Linked DNA regions of Homo sapiens: regions 1, 2, 3, 4 and 5 are each linked to region 6. Evidence: promoter capture Hi-C in human tissues and cell types (Jung and others, 2019). All regions are on one chromosome and are shown on one strand. Each heading gives the region's core, a stretch centred on a gene start or on the middle of the fragment in contact. The rest is flanking DNA. Distances are from core to core; before and after follow the strand shown. Region 1 has its middle 73 kb from the start of LINC00494. Region 2 has its middle 100 kb from the start of LINC00494. Region 3 overlaps PREX1 (phosphatidylinositol-3,4,5-trisphosphate dependent Rac exchange factor 1). Region 4 holds the start of LOC105372643 (a long non-coding RNA gene). Region 5 has its middle 130 kb from the start of LINC00494. Region 6 holds the start of SULF2 (sulfatase 2).

What was found. Contacts are between HindIII fragments. The study calls those that stand out against the background at their distance.
Region 1: a fragment that was not itself captured here is called in contact with the fragment with the promoter of SULF2 in region 6 in 3 of the 25 tissues and cell types used here (IMR-90 fibroblasts, dorsolateral prefrontal cortex and lymphoblastoid cells).
Region 2: a fragment that was not itself captured here is called in contact with the fragment with the promoter of SULF2 in region 6 in 2 of the 25 tissues and cell types used here (lymphoblastoid cells and spleen).
Region 3: a fragment that was not itself captured here is called in contact with the fragment with the promoter of SULF2 in region 6 in 1 of the 25 tissues and cell types used here (hippocampus).
Region 4: a fragment that was not itself captured here is called in contact with the fragment with the promoter of SULF2 in region 6 in 5 of the 25 tissues and cell types used here (dorsolateral prefrontal cortex, heart right ventricle, lymphoblastoid cells and 2 more).
Region 5: a contact is called between a fragment that was not itself captured here and the fragment with the promoter of SULF2 in region 6, in 5 of the 25 tissues and cell types used here (IMR-90 fibroblasts, aorta, heart left ventricle and 2 more).

Annotation. Positions count from the first base shown.
Region 1 is chr20:48,431,655-48,434,354 of GRCh38, reverse strand. No RefSeq gene overlaps it. Among named protein-coding and RNA genes, the nearest start is that of LINC00494, 73 kb to the right of the region's middle. The HindIII fragment of the contact is 3,229 bases long and covers 1-2,700 here.
Region 2 is chr20:48,460,299-48,462,998 of GRCh38, reverse strand. No RefSeq gene overlaps it. Among named protein-coding and RNA genes, the nearest start is that of LINC00494, 100 kb to the right of the region's middle. RefSeq lists an enhancer at 2,118-2,257. The HindIII fragment of the contact is 7,169 bases long and covers 1-2,700 here.
Region 3 is chr20:48,657,318-48,660,017 of GRCh38, reverse strand. It overlaps PREX1 (phosphatidylinositol-3,4,5-trisphosphate dependent Rac exchange factor 1), which reads left to right. Exons shown (of 40, transcript NM_020820.4): 16 at 1-99; 17 at 1,790-1,882. Among named protein-coding and RNA genes, the nearest start is that of PREX1, 170 kb to the left of the region's middle. The HindIII fragment of the contact is 7,109 bases long and covers 1-2,700 here.
Region 4 is chr20:48,392,140-48,394,839 of GRCh38, reverse strand. It overlaps LOC105372643 (a long non-coding RNA gene), which reads right to left and starts at 659. Exons shown (of 3, transcript XR_936812.3): 1 at 1-659. The HindIII fragment of the contact is 7,322 bases long and covers 1-2,700 here.
Region 5 is chr20:48,484,334-48,487,065 of GRCh38, reverse strand. No RefSeq gene overlaps it. Among named protein-coding and RNA genes, the nearest start is that of LINC00494, 130 kb to the right of the region's middle. The HindIII fragment of the contact is 5,666 bases long and covers 1-2,732 here.
Region 6 is chr20:47,784,016-47,786,730 of GRCh38, reverse strand. SULF2 (sulfatase 2) reads left to right here and starts at 1,250. Exons shown (of 21, transcript NM_001387048.1): 1 at 1,250-1,388. LOC124904920 (a long non-coding RNA gene) reads right to left here and starts at 977. Exons shown (of 2, transcript XR_007067618.1): 1 at 569-977; 2 at 1-326. RefSeq lists an enhancer at 1-132. The HindIII fragment of the contact is 5,454 bases long and covers 1-2,715 here.

The DNA of each region.
Region 1 (2,700 bases), core at 116-2,615, 650 kb before region 6:
GTAATCCTAGCTACTCTGGAGGCTGAGGCAGGAGAATCTCTTGAACCCAGGAGGCAGAGATTGCAGTAAGCTGAGATTGCACCACTGCACTCCAGCCTAGGCAACAAGAATGAAACTCTGTCTTTAAAAAAAAAAAAATCTGAAAGTAAGTTATCCCCTGCTGAAATGGTAATTCCCTTTCCTCCTTTATCAGTTTTGGAGGGCTAAATATTTGGCATATGAGGTTTATTTCTTTTCAAGGGAGCATCCAGCAGACATTAAATTCTCCAAGGGAGGCCCTGTTGAGACGAAGTGCCCCTTCATCCCCACTCCACTTCAAGAGCCTTGTTGCTTGGGAGGGAACTCCCTGTTTTTATCTGTGAAGGGAAAAACAAAGGGTGGTGGGCGGGGGCGCCCTTAAAAGAAATGCCTGGAGTTTTGTTGACTTTCAAAGCTTTCCTTAAATGAAACTATCTTCTATTATCGTTGATGAAAACAATCAACCCCTGTCAAGTATTTGGAGAGATTTATTCTGATGTGAGTGACCACGATCCATGGTCACATTCAGATTTGAGTGACCATGACCCATGACAAAGCCCCAGGAGAGCCTGAGAACACGTGCCCAAGGGGGTCAGACTATAGCTTGGTTTTATACATGTTAGAGAGACATAAGACATCAATCGATACATGTAAGATGTACACTGGTTTGGTTCAAAAAGGTGGGACAACTCAAAGTGGGGTGCTTCCAGGACATAGGTGGATTCAAAGATTTTCTGATTGGCAATTGGTTGAAAGAGTTAAGTGGTTACCTAAAGTCTCGGAATCAATAGAAAGGAGTGTCTGGGTTAAGATAAGGGGCTGTGGTGACTGAGGTTCTTATTACACAGATGAAGCCTCCAAGTAGCTGGCTTTAGAGAGAAGAGATTGTATTACTTTTAATGGCATTACAATTACTTTTAATACCATTACTTTAAATGGCAAAAACCGCAATTACTTTTGCACCAACCTAATACATGTTTCTTATCAGGGCTATTTCACAATATGTCAAAGAAATATATTTTAGGGTAAAATACTTCAATTTCTTTCAGAGCCCGCTGTCATGTTGGTATCTTATTGCTATAAAAAGTCTATTGTCAGTCTTTAGGACTCTGTTTTAATGTTAATGCTGGTCAGCTGTGCCTCAACTGCAAAAGGACGAGGTGTAATGAGGCCTGTCTGACCATCCATTCCCATCGTGGCTTGAACTAGTGTTTCAGGTTGATTTAGGGTACCCTTGGCTGACAGGAGGGGTCCATTCAGTTGCTTGGGGGGCTTAGAATTTTATTCTTGGTTTACAATTCAGAAGAATAGAAGAAATCCTTCATTTGCTTTTCAGGCGGGAAATCCCACAGACTCATGCTAATTGCCACTTGGACTTGGCATTTCCATGAACCTTCAACAAATGGCAACTCAGACATTTGCTACTTTTTAGGGGCCATTCAGTCACTGTAGCTCCTGCTGAACCCACCGGCTGAAAAATTCCTCCTACCCTCCAAGGGTAAAAAAAACTCCAAAGATGGATTCATCCATTTAGTCAGCAGACACGCTGGGAATGTGGAGGTGAAAATAAAGCCAAGCCTGGTTTTGTAGGAAGCATGTAAACCGGAGCAGCTCCATCTTAAATAGGAGCTGGGTAAAATGAGGCTGAGATCTACTGGGCTGCATTCCCAGACAGGCACTCTAAGTCACAGGATGAGAAGGTTGGCACGAGATACAGGTCATAAAGGGCATTCCCAGACAGGCATTCTAAGTCACAGGATGAGAAGGTTGGCACGAGATACAGGTCATAAAGACCTCGCTGATAAAACAGGCTGCAGTAGAGAAGCCAGCCAAAGCCCACCAAAACCAAAATGGCCACGAGAGTGACCTCTGGTTGTCCTCACTGCTACACTCCCCCCAGCACCATGACAGTTTACAAATGCCATGGCAACGTCAGGAAGTTACCCTATATGGTCTAAAAATAGGAGGCATGAATAATCCGCCCCTTGTTTGGCATATCACCAAGAAATAACCATAAAAATGGGCCCACCCTCAGGGCTGCTCTGTCTGCGGACTAGCCATTCTTTTATTCCTTTACTTTTCTAATAAACTTGCTTTCACTTTACTCTGTGGACTTGCCCTGAATTCTTTCTTGTGTGAGATCCAAGAACCCTCTCTTGGGGTCTGGATTGGTACTCCTTTCCTGTAACAGTTTTAGCTACTCGCAGACTCACCCCAGCTGCAGGGACAGTGTGACAGAGGCTTTTGTGCCTGGTCCTTAGGCTCCTGGTTTACATCTATGCAACGGCTTCCTATAACCAGCCCCTCCAACTGTGGGCCAGGGGCTTTCTCTGGCTGCTGGGGCATGCTCAGCCCATGTAGGGGGAAGGGTCAGGCAGTTATGACTCTAGGAACCTTCCACAACCAGCGACAGACAGGAGTCAGTGCACAAACAGCCCAGCTCTTCAAGAGGCCCCCAGTGGGAGGAAGCCCTAGTGGCCCAGATCAGAACCTCCTTGGGTCCTCGGTCTGTACTGACTTCCTTTCTTCTCCTCAGATACTTGCTCTGTACTGACTTCTTTCCTTCTCCTCAGATACTCTCTACTGACTTCTTTCCTTCTCTTCAGATACTCACTCTGTACTGACTTCCTTCCTTCTTCTCGGGTCTTCACTCTGTACTGACTTCCTTCCTTCTCCTCAGAT
Region 2 (2,700 bases), core at 157-2,656, 680 kb before region 6:
AACGCCCTGAGGTGGAAAAGGGTTCAGCAAGTTCAAAGGTCAGAGAGAAGGTCTGTTTGGGGTGCCCTGAGGTTGGAGCAGGACAGAGAGGCTGGCAGGGAGCAGTCTTGAGTGCCATGATGAGGAAGGAGGGTTTCGTGCAATGTCATGAGCATCATAGATGTCTGAGCAGGGGGCACTGTGACCTTCACACTCCACAATGAGCTCTCTGGCTGCCACATGGACAACAGGCTGGAAAGGGCAGGAGTGGACCCGGGAGAAAGGATGAGGCTGGTGCAGTAGCAATTATGCCCATCAGGATGGTCAGGGGAAAGAAAAGTAGTGCAAAAACGTCTCTCCTTCTCCTGTAGCCCATGGTTATCTCCTAAACAACTATGCAAAAGATAAACACCCAAACGCTCCAGCAAAACCCAAAACCAAAACCAAAGCAACATCCCCATGGCTTCTGAAGGTAAAGGGTAGAGATGAATATCTATGAAGCATTTACCACCATGTGTTTGAGGAGGAAAAGATAAAAATCTTATGATTTTGTTCCCTTGAGGACCTTAAATATCAAATTGAAAATATACTGTATTTCAAAATGGTGTTTCCCCAAAGAGTGGAGGGGTGCCCACCAAAGATACGTGAGATAGGCCAGGCGTTGTGGCTCTCAGCTGTAATCCTAGCGCTCTGGGAGTCTGAGGCAGGTGGATCACCTGAGGTTAGGAGTTCAAGACCAGCCTGGCCAACGTGGCAAAACTCCGTCTCTACTAAAAATACAAAAATTAGTTGGGCATGGTGGCGGACATCTATAACACCAGCTACCCAGGAGGCTGAGGCAGGAGGATCGCTTGAACCCGGGAGATGGAGGTTGCAGTGAGCCGAGATCGCGCCACTGTACTCCAGCCTGGGTGAAAGAGCGAAACACCGTCTCAAAAAAAAAAAAAAAATGATATGTGAATATGTGAGATGATTTTGGGTGGTTCCTGAACCAGCATGAAACGCTGTGGAATCCCACAGTGTGAAATGTATTCCCTTGCCCAGTGTCTTTCAGTCTCTCTGAGATAGTCATGGAGATAGTTTCAGTTCAATGCTCATGTGACTTCAATACCTCTCTACTGCTTGAGAGAGACAAAGGTGAAACTGCCTTCACACAAATTATAACTGAGGAAATTATGACAGTCAAAGACATCACACCTAACTGACTCTATCTTGCTTCTAACCTTTAAACTGCCCTTGTTCCTTGCTGGGCACAGGCCAAACTAACTTTGAGAAAGAATTCAGTTCATGATTTGACTCAAACAAAATTGGTTATAGCCTTTTCTTGCCTGGGGAGCCGTCTGCCTTTGCAGGACTAACAAATTACAGCCTCTGGCTGCAAGAGTCTGAACCTCCCCAAATTGCTCCTGGGAATAACATCACTGTTGTAAAACCTAAGATCAGCGCTTGAGATATTTTGCAGCCCCTGCACTTGATGGATCAGCTGACACCACCCAGACCGGTCATCTGCCTCAACCAGTTCCGCCGTCCCACCCAGGAACAGAAGACAGCATGAAAACCTCACTTCTACCCCCATGATTCCATCTCCAACCTGACCAATCAGCTCTCCCCACTTTCTGAGCGCCTACTTACCAAATTATCTTTAAGAACTCTGATCCCCGAATGCTCAGGGAGACTGATTTGAGTAACAATAAAGCTCCAGTCTCCCGCACAGCCGGCTCTGCATGGGTTACTTTCTCCATTGCAATTTCCCCTGTCTTGATAAGTCGGCTCAGTCTAGGCAGTGGGCAAGGTGAACCCCTTGGGTGGTTACAAAGGGAGCACAGGTTTCAGGTGCATCGTCTTTAGCAGCCTCTGGCTAGAAAGTAATAACACGGCTCTGTTTTTGTTGTGTGTTTTCATGGATACTCTTCTATTCATGGAAGTGATACTGATTTTTCATTTGCAGTAGTGGAATATCAAAGTTCCTTTAAAAAATTCTAAAAATGTAACTGATTTAGAGATAAATTTTGACTAGATCAGAATATAGATGAGATGCAGCTATTTCGAAAGTCATGACGGAGGCAGATGCAAATCAGATCATGTCACTCACATCTCGGCTCACTGCCCTGAACCTTCCAATGGCTTCTTCCCTCACTCAGAAGCAGATCCACACTCCTGGCTGTGGCCTGGAGAGCCCCACATGATCTGGGCCTCAGGTAGCTCTCAGACCTCCTCTCCTCCCTCTCTGTCACTCCACTGTGGTCACACTGACCTTTCCCAGCGCAGGGACTCTGCACTTGCTGTTTTCTCTGCCTGCACTCTCTTCCTCTAGAAATGTGTATTGCTCATCACTCAGTCCATCCAGCTCTCTACACATTTCTCCTCCTCCTAGCAGCCCTCCAAGACCACCACATCTAATATAATTCCTCCCGTGACTTTCAGGCCCATGGTGTGGTCTCATCCAGGGGTCCCCAACTTCATCCAGAGCATGAAGTGAGGGGATGTGTGCAGGATCAAGTGGCTGGGGTAAAGTAAGTAAAGTAATAATAACTACCAGGTGATATTCACAACCCATATTAGTGCTACCAACAGCCACATCTGCCTGCTTCTCTGGGCCCAGGATTGTCTGCAAGCTCCCGGTCCTAGGTGGGTCAGCAGAAGGGTCTGACATTATGAGAAGGAGCAGCTTGTCCAGCTCATGGCCTGTTCTGTGCACTGGGAGTCCCTGTCCCCCATAGC
Region 3 (2,700 bases), core at 12-2,511, 870 kb before region 6:
TTTCATGCTGACGAGGAGATGGAGGGGACCAGCAGCAAGAACAAACAGCTTCGCAACGACTTCAAGCTGGTGGAGAACATTCTGGCCAAGCGCCTGCTGGTAGGAGCACAGCTGAGCAGCTGTCCCTTCCTTGCCAGAGCCCCCTGCAGGCATGGGAGCTGGGCGACCTTCTGGTTATGCACAGGGAAGGGGGCTCAGCTTGGAGTACCAGAATAGGTGGATTCTAGGTGGTAGGGGGCAACTCTGCCAAGAAGCCAGGCTGCATCACTGGCTGAGACTACCCTCCTAACAAAAGAGATTGGGCTTGCAGGTCTCCCTTTCTGTTCCCTTGCCTCTCCTGTCCCCTCCCCGTACACTGTATAGAGAGGTTGGCCTCCTGAAGCAACTCATCCTGCATACCCCACAGCAGCCCCCATCTTAACGCGTGGCCTGCAGCAGGCAGTCAAGACAGAGGCTCAGAGGTTAGGTTTCTGGTCACTGCCAGGGTTGGAGCTGAAGCCTGACTCATATGAAGACGGCTCCATTAACTTCTCTCCCATAGTACTGCAGGGACTGCTGTTCCCTCTGATTTCATGCCCCTCACTGTAAAGTCCCCCAATGCTTCCCGTCACACTTAGGATAAAATTAAACCTCTCACTCCCCTCCCCTCCCCTTCTCTCTTTCCTCTTTCCCTCCCTTCCTCCTTCCTTCCTCTCTCTTCTTTCTTTTCTCTTTTCTTGTTTTCTTTTCTTCTTTCTCTCTCTCTCTCGTGCCCGTCCTTCCTTCCTTCCTTCCTTCCTTCCTTTTCTTTCTCTCCTCCCCTTTCTTTCTTCCCTCCCCTCCCCTCCATTCCCCTCTCTCCCCTCCCTTCCCCTTTCTCCCCTCCCCTCTCTCCTCTCTCCTCTCCTCTGCCTCCCCAGTGGCTAGGACAACAGACCTGCGCCACCACACCCAGCTAATTTTTGTATTTTTTATAAAGACAGGGTTTTGCTATGTTGCCCAGGCTGGTCTTGAACTCCTGGGATCAAGCGATCAACCCGTCTCGGCCTCCCAAAGTGCTGGGATTACAAGCGTGAGCCATTGCGCCTGACCTCCTGATCTCTTTTCTTATCCTCCAGTGCCTTGGGGCCTCCCTCAGGACCTTTGTACGTGCTGTGTCTGCTGCCTGGAGCATGTTCCTCCACTCTTTATGAAGTTTTGTTTTTCATTTCGTTCAGGCCTCAGCTCCGATAGCACCTTCTCTGCCCCCTTGCCGTGCCCTATCCCATTAAGTGCTTTAATTCCAACTACGTACACTCCCTGCATCACATCCTGTATTTCTTTTGTTTATTTGTTTATAGTTGGCCTCCCGCACTAAGCAGGGCTGGGCTTGTTTGTCTTGTTCTAGATGGTGTCTCCAGCACCCATGAGAACTGCCTGGCCCGTGTGATGGGCAGCATCTCAATCAATGTCTGTTGACTGAATGAGTGCCTTTCCCTGTATCCCCCGCACTGGGGAACCCCCAGACCTGTTTCTAGCATGCCTGCCATCCTGCCCTGGGGTGGGACCGCTCCTCCCTAAACTCCCTGACTCCACATTCTTGGTGGCTGGACACCTTTGGATCCGTGTGATTCGTTAAGCCAGTGGCAGGCACAGAGTGAGCACTGGCTCTGCCAGGTGCTGTTTGCGTTTTGCTCTGTCTCGCCCACCTGGATCTGGCCACTTCCCTACTAGACCTGGGACGAGGTCATGGTCCTGTGGGGGCCACGGTGGGGCTGGCCGTAGGCCCACCTCGCTCCCTGACCGGGTTCCTTCTGCCCTGGGCCCCCAGATCCTGCCCCAGGAGGAGGACTATGGCTTTGACATCGAGGAGAAGAACAAGGCTGTGGTGGTGAAGTCCGTCCAGAGGGGCTCGCTGGCTGAGGTGAGGCCCTCGGGGGAGCTGGCAGGGACCGTGTGCAGGTGGCAGAGCGGGGTGTCTCTCTTCACCCTCCTTGAGGCAGCCCAGCCCAGGAGATTCTGGAATGATCGCTGACTCCTCTTCTCTCATTGCTCACGTGGAGAAACTGAGTCCAGGACCCACTGTCTGCAGTGGCTACAGTAGCTGGGAGTGAGTGCAGAGTCCCGGGGCTGTGCTCCTGGTGTGTTCCACCACTGCCCTCTGCTGGACATTGTGGGGAGGTACAGGAAAAAAGCAGGTGTCTCAGTTTTCTGCAACCAGTCACAGTGGCTTGAATAAGATAAGCTCATTGCTGTCTGATGCAAAGCCTACAGGAGGATAGGTTAGGAGAGTGAGGGTGTGGCTGGCCGAGGATTCAGCCCTGGGGCCTTCCGGCTTTGCCTGGGGCGTGTGCAGGTGGGTGGGGGAGATGCACCTGCCGTGCTGGCTGGAGCCCAGCTTGCCCCTGTGGCAATTAGGAATGCTTTGGGCTGCAAGGAGCGACATACCCATGGCCGGAGCGGCTAGGTTGACCTTGCCAGTGATGTGAGCGGTTGGAAGGAGGCAGTTGTGAATCTTGGTTCGGGTCAGCAGGTCTTCATCTTTCTTCGCCAGGCCCTAACAGACATAAGATGGCCACCCCGGTGTGACCCTCGTGTCCCCACACAACAGGGTCAGGCCCCAGCAGAGTTTCCCCTCAGGAGGAATACCTTTCCCAGCTGCCCTCCCATGAGCTTCCCTTTGTGGCTCATGAGGCAGAACCAGGTCCCTTGTGCCCCTCAACTGCTTACCACAGACAGCAC
Region 4 (2,700 bases), core at 84-2,583, 610 kb before region 6:
GCTCTCCCTACGTCCTCAGTCCTGGCATCCTCTCTGTTCCCTGGACTTGTCCAGCCCAGTCCTGCCTCCAGGCCTTGGCACCTGCTGTGTCCTTGACCTGGCGTGATCTCCTGATAGCTGTTACTGGGCTGGAATCTTCTCAGTGCTCAGCTTGAGCTCAAAGCTCACCTCTTCAGAGAGGCCGTCCTCACCTCCCCATCCAATGTGGCCTTTCTTCCCTTTGCTCTTTCAATTCCCAGTTTGTTTCCTGTAGAGCAGTTTCACCCTCTTCAATCTTGTTTTTTATTTCCTTGTTTATTGTGCCTCCTTTACCAGAACACTCACCCTCTGAGGGCCCGGGCCAGGTCTGTCCTGGTCAGAGCTGTATTCTAGGACCTAGAAAAGTGCCTGGCACAATACCTGCTCAGCAAATGAAGGATGGATTGATGGACAGAAGCCTGTCTTAGCTGAAGGCCCACTTACTGAGCCTTCAAAGTGAATCTAGGCCCTTGGCTGTTTATATCTCTTTTGTGGTTAAATACCAAAGGGCCTTGACAAATCCCTGTTTTGTTTTATGTTTTTTCTCTGTCTCAGTAGCCTTCTCTGCCCATCAGTCCACCTCGAGGAGTTGTAAGTCACCAAGGGCTCTGGGCAGCAAAGCCGTTCCTCAGCAACAAGGAAATGATGTGTGGGATTTCTGTTCCCGCTTTGTCCGTGAGTTAGGCTGAATAAAGGCAGCTTCTTCTCCCCACTCTTGCATCAGCTTCCTAGGGCTGCTAGAACAAGTTCCCACTCAGTTGGTGCCTTAAAACAATAGAAATTCGTTCTCCCACAGTTCTGGAGGCCAGAAGTCCAAAATCCCAGGGCTGTGTTCCCTCCAGGGGCTCCCCAGGCGACTCGGTCCCTCACCTCCTCCCACTTCTCGGGCTTGTGACTGCATCGCTCCAGTCTCTGCCCCTTCCTCCTCTGTGCGTCTGTGTCATCTCCCTCTGCCTGTTTCCCATAAGGACTCTTGCGATAGCATTTAGGGGCCACCTGGGTGATCTAGCGCAATCCTTCCATGTCAAAGTCCTTAACTTCATGACATCTGCAAACCCTTTTGACAAGCAAGGTTGCATGTACAGGTTGCAAGGATGAGGACTTGTGTCTCTGGGTGGCCATTGTGTAACCTACGGTGCGGCTCTACCTCCTCCCGTGACCCTCCTGGAAGCTGGGCTCATTGGCTGCTCTTTCTCTGTGACTCCATATTCTGTTCATGATGTTTTAATCTCTAACCACCTCAGCACCTGAGGGAAAGGCACCTGGCTGTAAAAAAGAAACACTTCTCTTAATTACCCTTGTACCCAGAATACGCACTGGGCAGGGAGCGGCGGGGCCTGGGGCCATCCATCACCCGGTCCTGTCTCTGGCTCTGAGCTGCCGTCCACAGACCCCATCACCACTCTCCTCCGTGGCATTTAATCAGTGGCCTTTCTGGGGGTTCTGAGTGATGCTGCCTCTGTGAGATGAGAAGCTGCAGCTGCCTCTGGAAAGACTGTTTCAGAAGAGGGGGATCCCAGGTTCTCCCTTTGCTGGGTGGGGGCAGGTCACAGGAGATGCTTTGGCCCCTGGGCAGCCCTTGGGGCTCCTGAAACTCCACAGGGGCAGCAACACCATGGACCATGCTACGGACCAGTCTCCTCTAGGCCTGGCCCAGGGACGGGACGGAAGAGATGCCAGAGCTCTGCGCCGCTGCAAGACCCAGTTCCCTGGTTTGCTCATAGCCGCAGCCCTACCATTGCTTCCCTGGGAACTGGCCGGCTGTTCCCATCTCCCCTTTATCCCCAGGCAGCCAAGGAGGCCCAGGACCCAAGTCCTCCCTCATCCCCACTACGGTCTTCCCCAGCTCTGAGGCATGAGGATCCCCCACTCTCCCTGAGACCTTTGACCCCTCCCACTCCCCGAGCCCAAGTGCCCTTCCCATCCTCCATCCCCTCCCTGCCTGCCTTGTCCCACAACCCAGCCACCCCTGCACATACTCAGTTTCTCAGTCATTTACTTGTTTGAGTTCTAGAACACATGCTCTGGGCAGTGAGAGCTTTTGTCTGCAGTGGCTCTGAAGAGGGGGAAGCCCCATGGCTGCCCATCAGGGAAGCAGCTCAGGGCAGCAGGCACCTGCGTGGGGGTGGCAGAGGGTGCAGTCCACTTGGTCTTGGCCAGTCCTTGGTGACCAGGGACAGAGAATGGTGAGGGGCACTAAGACCAGGGCTCTCCAGGGCCTCCTATGGCTGTGGGAGAGGCCTAGCAGGGCTCCTGCTTGGAGGTGATAATGAGGCATCAGAGCCATGGAGGTGAGACCAGTCCCTCCTCCGGTTGCATCCTGTGTTCCCTGCAGCTTTGCGCCTGTACTTGGTGGGGTAATTGTCCCGAAAACCAGCCCAATTGTCCCATAGAACTGATGTTTATGGTTTCTTTTGAGTAAACATAGAAATTGACCCTCCCAGTCTCAACTTGAGAAAGTTACATTTGTCTTATCTGAGTTCCTTTCTCAAGAAAGCAGCCATCAGTCCTCCCACATAGCATCAAGAAACTGAAACTCACCAGATCACTGTATCTGGACAATGAGAGACACCAGATCCCTCACCCATCACGACTGCTGACCACCTGCCTCTTGTTGACCAACTCTTCTTCCCTAATTCCTGTTTTCCCACACATGGTTACATTTATTCCCTGCTGTATAAA
Region 5 (2,732 bases), core at 78-2,577, 700 kb before region 6:
TCTCTCCCCAACACCCCGCCCTGCCATCTTTCTTTGTCTCTTTCTTTTTTTTAGAGGCAGAATCTCACTCTATTGCCCAGGCTGCAGTGCAGTGGTCCAATCTTGGCTCACTGCAGCCTCTGCCTCCTGGGTTCAAGATATTCTTCTGCCTCAACTTCCCAAGTAGCTGGGACTACATGTGTGTGCACCATGTCCGGCTAATTTTTTTTGTGTTAGTAGAGATGGTATTTCACCATGTTGGCCTGGCTGGTCTCGAACTCCTGACCTCAAGTGATCCACCTGCCTCTGCCTCCCAAAGTGCTGGTCTGGCCTGTGTTTTCCTTTAAGCCCCTTGTATTCCTGGGCTCGCGGCCCCTTCCTCCATATTCAAGCACATGATTCCAGTCTCTGCCCTGTCACTATAGCTCCTCTGACTCAGACTCTCCTGCCTCCCTCTTATAAGGACCCCTGTGATTACACTGGGCCCAGCCAGGTCATCTAGAGTCATCTTTCTATCTCAAGATCCTTTACTTAATTACATCAGCAAAACCTCTTTGCAATGGACATATACACAGGTCCCAGGGGTTTGAATGTAGACATGTATGGGGGGCCCTTGTTCAACCCCCTATGGGGGGTGGTTGTTGATTTTCAGTAGGATGGTCAGGGAAGACCCCGCTGAGAAGCCACCATTTGAGCAAAGACCGGAGGAGCTGAGGCTGTGGGCCAGGATGACAAGGGTGGAGCCTTCCAGGCAAAAGAATAGTGAGTACAAAGCCAGCAACAGGTGTGCTGGCATGTTCCAGGAAAATCAGGGAGGGAGCCACAGCTGCGGCCGAGTGAGGAGAGGAGCAGCGGGAGGTGAGGTCAGAGAAGCCTTGGGGGCAGAAGCTGCGGGCCTCATGGTTATCATGAAGCTCGGGGTTTTACTCTGAGTATGTGGAAACCATGGAGAGTTCTGAGCAGAGGAAGCACAGGACCTGACCTGGGTTTCACAGGCTTCCTCTGGCTGCTGTGTGGAAAATAGGGAAAGCAAGAGTGGAAGAAGGGAGGCCTGTCAGGAAGCTTTTGCACAATGGCCTTGGTGAGAAAGATTCATGGCTTGGAGCAGATGCTGGGATGTGTCCCCCACATCCCCTTTCAGGAGCAGGCATGCATGCCCCACTGCCCAGGGGGTTGCCTGCTGAGAGCTCACAGCTGAGACCCTCCCCAGAAAATGCCCCTGGCTGACAGGAGCTGCTTTGCCCAGTCACCCTTCCTGGGGTCCCTCCATCTCCAAAGACTAGTAGTAAACACAGGGGTCTAAAGGTCCAGCCCCTTGACTCGATTCATCACAGCTCTGAAGGGCCGTCTTTGCTGCAGACTTCCTCAAAGGATGGATTGCAAAGTCATGCGTAGAGTGTGCAGGGCTCAGGTGACTATCTATATGTCTGTCTATATTTTAGGATCCCTGTCTATATGAGCAATTTGTTAAAATATATATTTCAAAATTCCTGAGCCCACATGAAATCTATTGATGTATCCACAAAGGTGTAGAATAATGGATAGAGAAGGGGTACTTATGTGGTTTATTGTCCAACAGATTGTGTGAAAGTTTTTTGTCATGTCCAAGCAGCACCTCCTTCTGGTCAGGCCCACGTTATATACGAGAACAATGGAACAAGTCGAAGACAAAGCAACACGTCCCCCTGTAAAAACTGTCAGTGTAACTGTCCACTTCCGTATCTGTCCAGTCACTTAACAAATATTGACAGACCATCTTTAAACACAGGCTGCTGTGCTGGTGTCTGGGACACAGCGGTGAGTAAGAGCCGTAAGAGCCATCTGATCTCATGACACTCTCAGGAAGTTCCAGTCTATGAGGATGGACAGCATGCAGGTCAACACATAAACATCATTCAGACTGTGAAAGATACAATAAAGGACACAGATTGGGAGATGGGATAAAGAGTCATGGGGGTGGAGCTACTGTCTCATTTTGGGTGGTCTGGGAAGGCCTCTCTGAGGAGGTGACATGTGGGCTGAGTCCTGAAGGATAAGAAGGGGCTGCCATGGGTGATTTGAGGGAACAGCACACTAGGTGGAAGGAACAGCAAGTGCAAAGGCCAGAGATCAGGAGGATCAGAGATGGGGACAGAGTATCTAAGAAATTGGGAGAGTGGTAAGAGATGGGGATGTAGAGACACTGTCAGGTGAGATAGGGAAGGGAGCCAGGTGTGGTGGCTGACACCTGTAATCCACCAGCCTGGGCAATGTGGCGAGACTTCATGTCTTAAAAAAAAAAAAAAGCCAGATGTGGTGGCACATGCCTGTGGTCCCAGCTACTGAGGAGGCAGGAGGATCATCTGAGCCTGGAAGGTTGAGGCTGCAGTGAGTCAAGATCATGCCCCTGTAATCCAGCCTGGGTGGGTGACAGAACAAGAACCTGTGTCCAAAAAAAAAAAAAAAAAAGGAAAAAAAAGGGAAGAGAATGTCACATTGCAATGACAGTGTTTTGTTTCATTTAAACAATTTTCTCTCCCTTTTGAGTCCAGCCTGACACTCAGGAGACGGAGAGAGCCTTCCGCTCATTCTGCCTCAGGAGGAGCTCGAACCTGCTCCCTTAAATCTCCATCAGCTCCGGCAAGCCCTTGGGCTCTGCTGGCTGTAACGCTGCTCCCTGTTTACCAGAGGCTTTTGCTGGCACATTAAATGTATCACTCATACCCTGAACTAGATCGAGCCACAGAAAGCTTTGATTCATGGAGCTGCTGGTC
Region 6 (2,715 bases), core at 1-2,500:
CTCCGGCCTCTTCTGTGGCGCGAGGGACAGCGGAAACCACGGTAGACAGCACCCCCTTGAGTCCAATTCCTCCCCTTTCGGAGGAAGCCGGTTTCTCCTTTCTATGCTACTCCCGGGCCATTTCTGGACAACAGCTGCTATTTTCACTTGAGCCGAAGTTAATTTCTCGGGGAGTTCTCGGGCGCGCACAGGCAGCTCGGTTTGCCCTGCGATTGAGCTGCGGGTCGCGGCCGGCGCCGGCCTCTCCAATGGCAAATGTGTGTGGCTGGAGGCGAGCGCGAGGCTTTCGGCAAAGGCAGTCGAGTGTTTGCAGACCGGGGCGAGTCCTGTGAAAGCAGATAAAAGAAAACATTTATTAACGTGTCATTACGAGGGGAGCGCCCGGCCGGGGCTGTCGCACTCCCCGCGGAACATTTGGCTCCCTCCAGCTCCGAGAGAGGAGAAGAAGAAAGCGGAAAAGAGGCAGATTCACGTCGTTTCCAGCCAAGTGGACCTGATCGATGGCCCTCCTGAATTTATCACGATATTTGATTTATTAGCGATGCCCCCTGGTTTGTGTGTTACGCACACACACGTGCACACAAGGCTCTGGCTCGCTTCCCTCCCTCGTTTCCAGCTCCTGGGCGAATCCCACATCTGTTTCAACTCTCCGCCGAGGGCGAGCAGGAGCGAGAGTGTGTCGAGTGAGTGTGCGTCTGTGTGTCCCGGCGAGGGTGCGCGCTCGGCGCCGGGAGCGCGGCCAGCCGAGTCCGGAGGCATCGGGAGGTCGAGAGCCGCCGGGACCCCAGCTCTGCGTTCACTGCCCCGTCCGGAGCTGGACTTCGGGGCCGGGGCCGGGGCCGTGCGCCGGGGACAGGCAGGGCCGGGTCGCGGGCCGCGCGTCCCCCAGGCCGGAGGTAAAAGCGCTAGCGCGCGGAGGGCTCGAGGAGGGCACCGCGGCTGGGCCCCCCGCGCCCCGGGCCCCAGCCGTCCGCGGCTCCCGGCCCGACGCTCCCCGCCCCGGAGCGCGCCCGCCTCCCCTGCGTGGAGGCCGGCGGGCAGGCGAGCGGGGGGCGGTAGCGCCGTGCCAAGGGGCTGGCTGGGGCAGCGTGGCCGGCCGGGCTGGGGCGATTTAAGAGCGGTCCGGGCGGGGTGCGGAGCCGGACTTTGGCTGGGGCGGCGCGCGGGGAGGGGGCCGGGGGCGGTGGCGGCGGCGTTGGGGGGCGGGGAGGAGGCAGGAGGAGGAGCAGCAGCGCTCGCCGGGGGATGCAGCAGCGGCAGCGGCGGCGGCGGCGGCGGCAGCGGCAGCGGCGGCGCGGAGTCCCCTGCGCCCAGCGGCCCGGCCGGGCTGCGGCAGAGGCGGCGGCGGCGCCCCGCTCCGGGTGAGGTTGCCGGGGCCGTGCGCGCTGGTGAGTGGGGCGTGGGGGGCAGGTGGGTGGCTGGGGGACGCGGGGCTCGGGCGGGGGCTCGCGGCGGCCGGAGCCTTCCCCGGCGTGAGCCCGGCCGCGAGCGCCGCCCAGGTGAGCCGGGGCTGGTCCGGACCGCCCGGCTCCAGCCCCAGCGCTGCTTGCGGAGGTGGGTCCGGGCGGGCGGGAGGGAGGCTCCGGCGCCGGCCGTCCGCAGAGGGATGACCTGTTTGACCCCGCTGGCTGGCGGGCGGGCGAGGACTTCCCGCCGCGCCCCTGACCCGCGGACACGGCACACCGAGCACAGGCGGCCCCGGGTAGGGGAGCGCGCCTGGGCCGGCCATCCGCAGGGGCATGGCCTTGTTGACCCTTAGGGTTTAGACCCAAGGGACCGGTAGATGCCAGCCCACGTGGGGCTTGTCCGGGCAGGACTCGGGGAAGCAGTGGGCCGGATCTTCAGAGTGGTTGGAAACTCGCAGACACCGAAAGGACAAACAGGATCGAAAAGGCAGACTTCCTCCCAGGCCAGGGCAGAACGAGTTTCCATCGCCTGGCGGAGGGATGCTCCCCTCCCCGGCTCCTCGGGGTTTCAGAAGTCTAGCGGTGAATTCTAGGAGTGCACTTTTCCAAACATTCCTTATAGTAGTTCGTTCATTCGTTCTACAAGCATTTCTGGAGCACCCCCTCGTGCCGGGCACCGCGTTCTGTTCCAGGGAAACGCGGCTGAACAGGATCTGGCTCCTGCGCGCCAGAAGCTGCCGGTTCACTGGGAGGGCAGCAGGGTAGAGAGATGCCGTCTCGGGGTGGAAGATGGAAAGGGAAGCCTGCAATCCTAGTTTGCACACTGGCCTCGGTCCGCAACTCCCCCACCTGCACGCAGTAGGCCCAGCACACAGTAGGAAGAGCAAGCCAGACCTGCCTGTGACGACCCTCTCCTCCTCCTCCTCCCCCTTGAAAGCTTTGATTCATTCCCTGCCCCCCTTTCTGGAAAGTCTTCCTGCAGCTTGTTTTAATCACTTTTTGAGTTAAAAGTCAATATTTAATTAACCAAGTAATTACATTCAGCTTACGTTTCAATCTGGGTATTTGCTCATCTGTGCGTGTTGGGACACCCGCCCTCTCGCCCCTCCATCTGTCCCCTGCCTGTTTCCCACCGGGTCCACCCCCACTTTTGGGGCAGAGAAGGGGAGGCTGCGCTGGAGCAGGTTCTCAGGGGGAGACAGGGAGCAGGAGAGACGGGCTTTCTCTGGAGGACACCCCCGGATCTGCGCGCTCTCCAAATTTCAGCTTGTAGTGAATAGTGAAGGTGATTTCTTGACAGCCTCTGCCT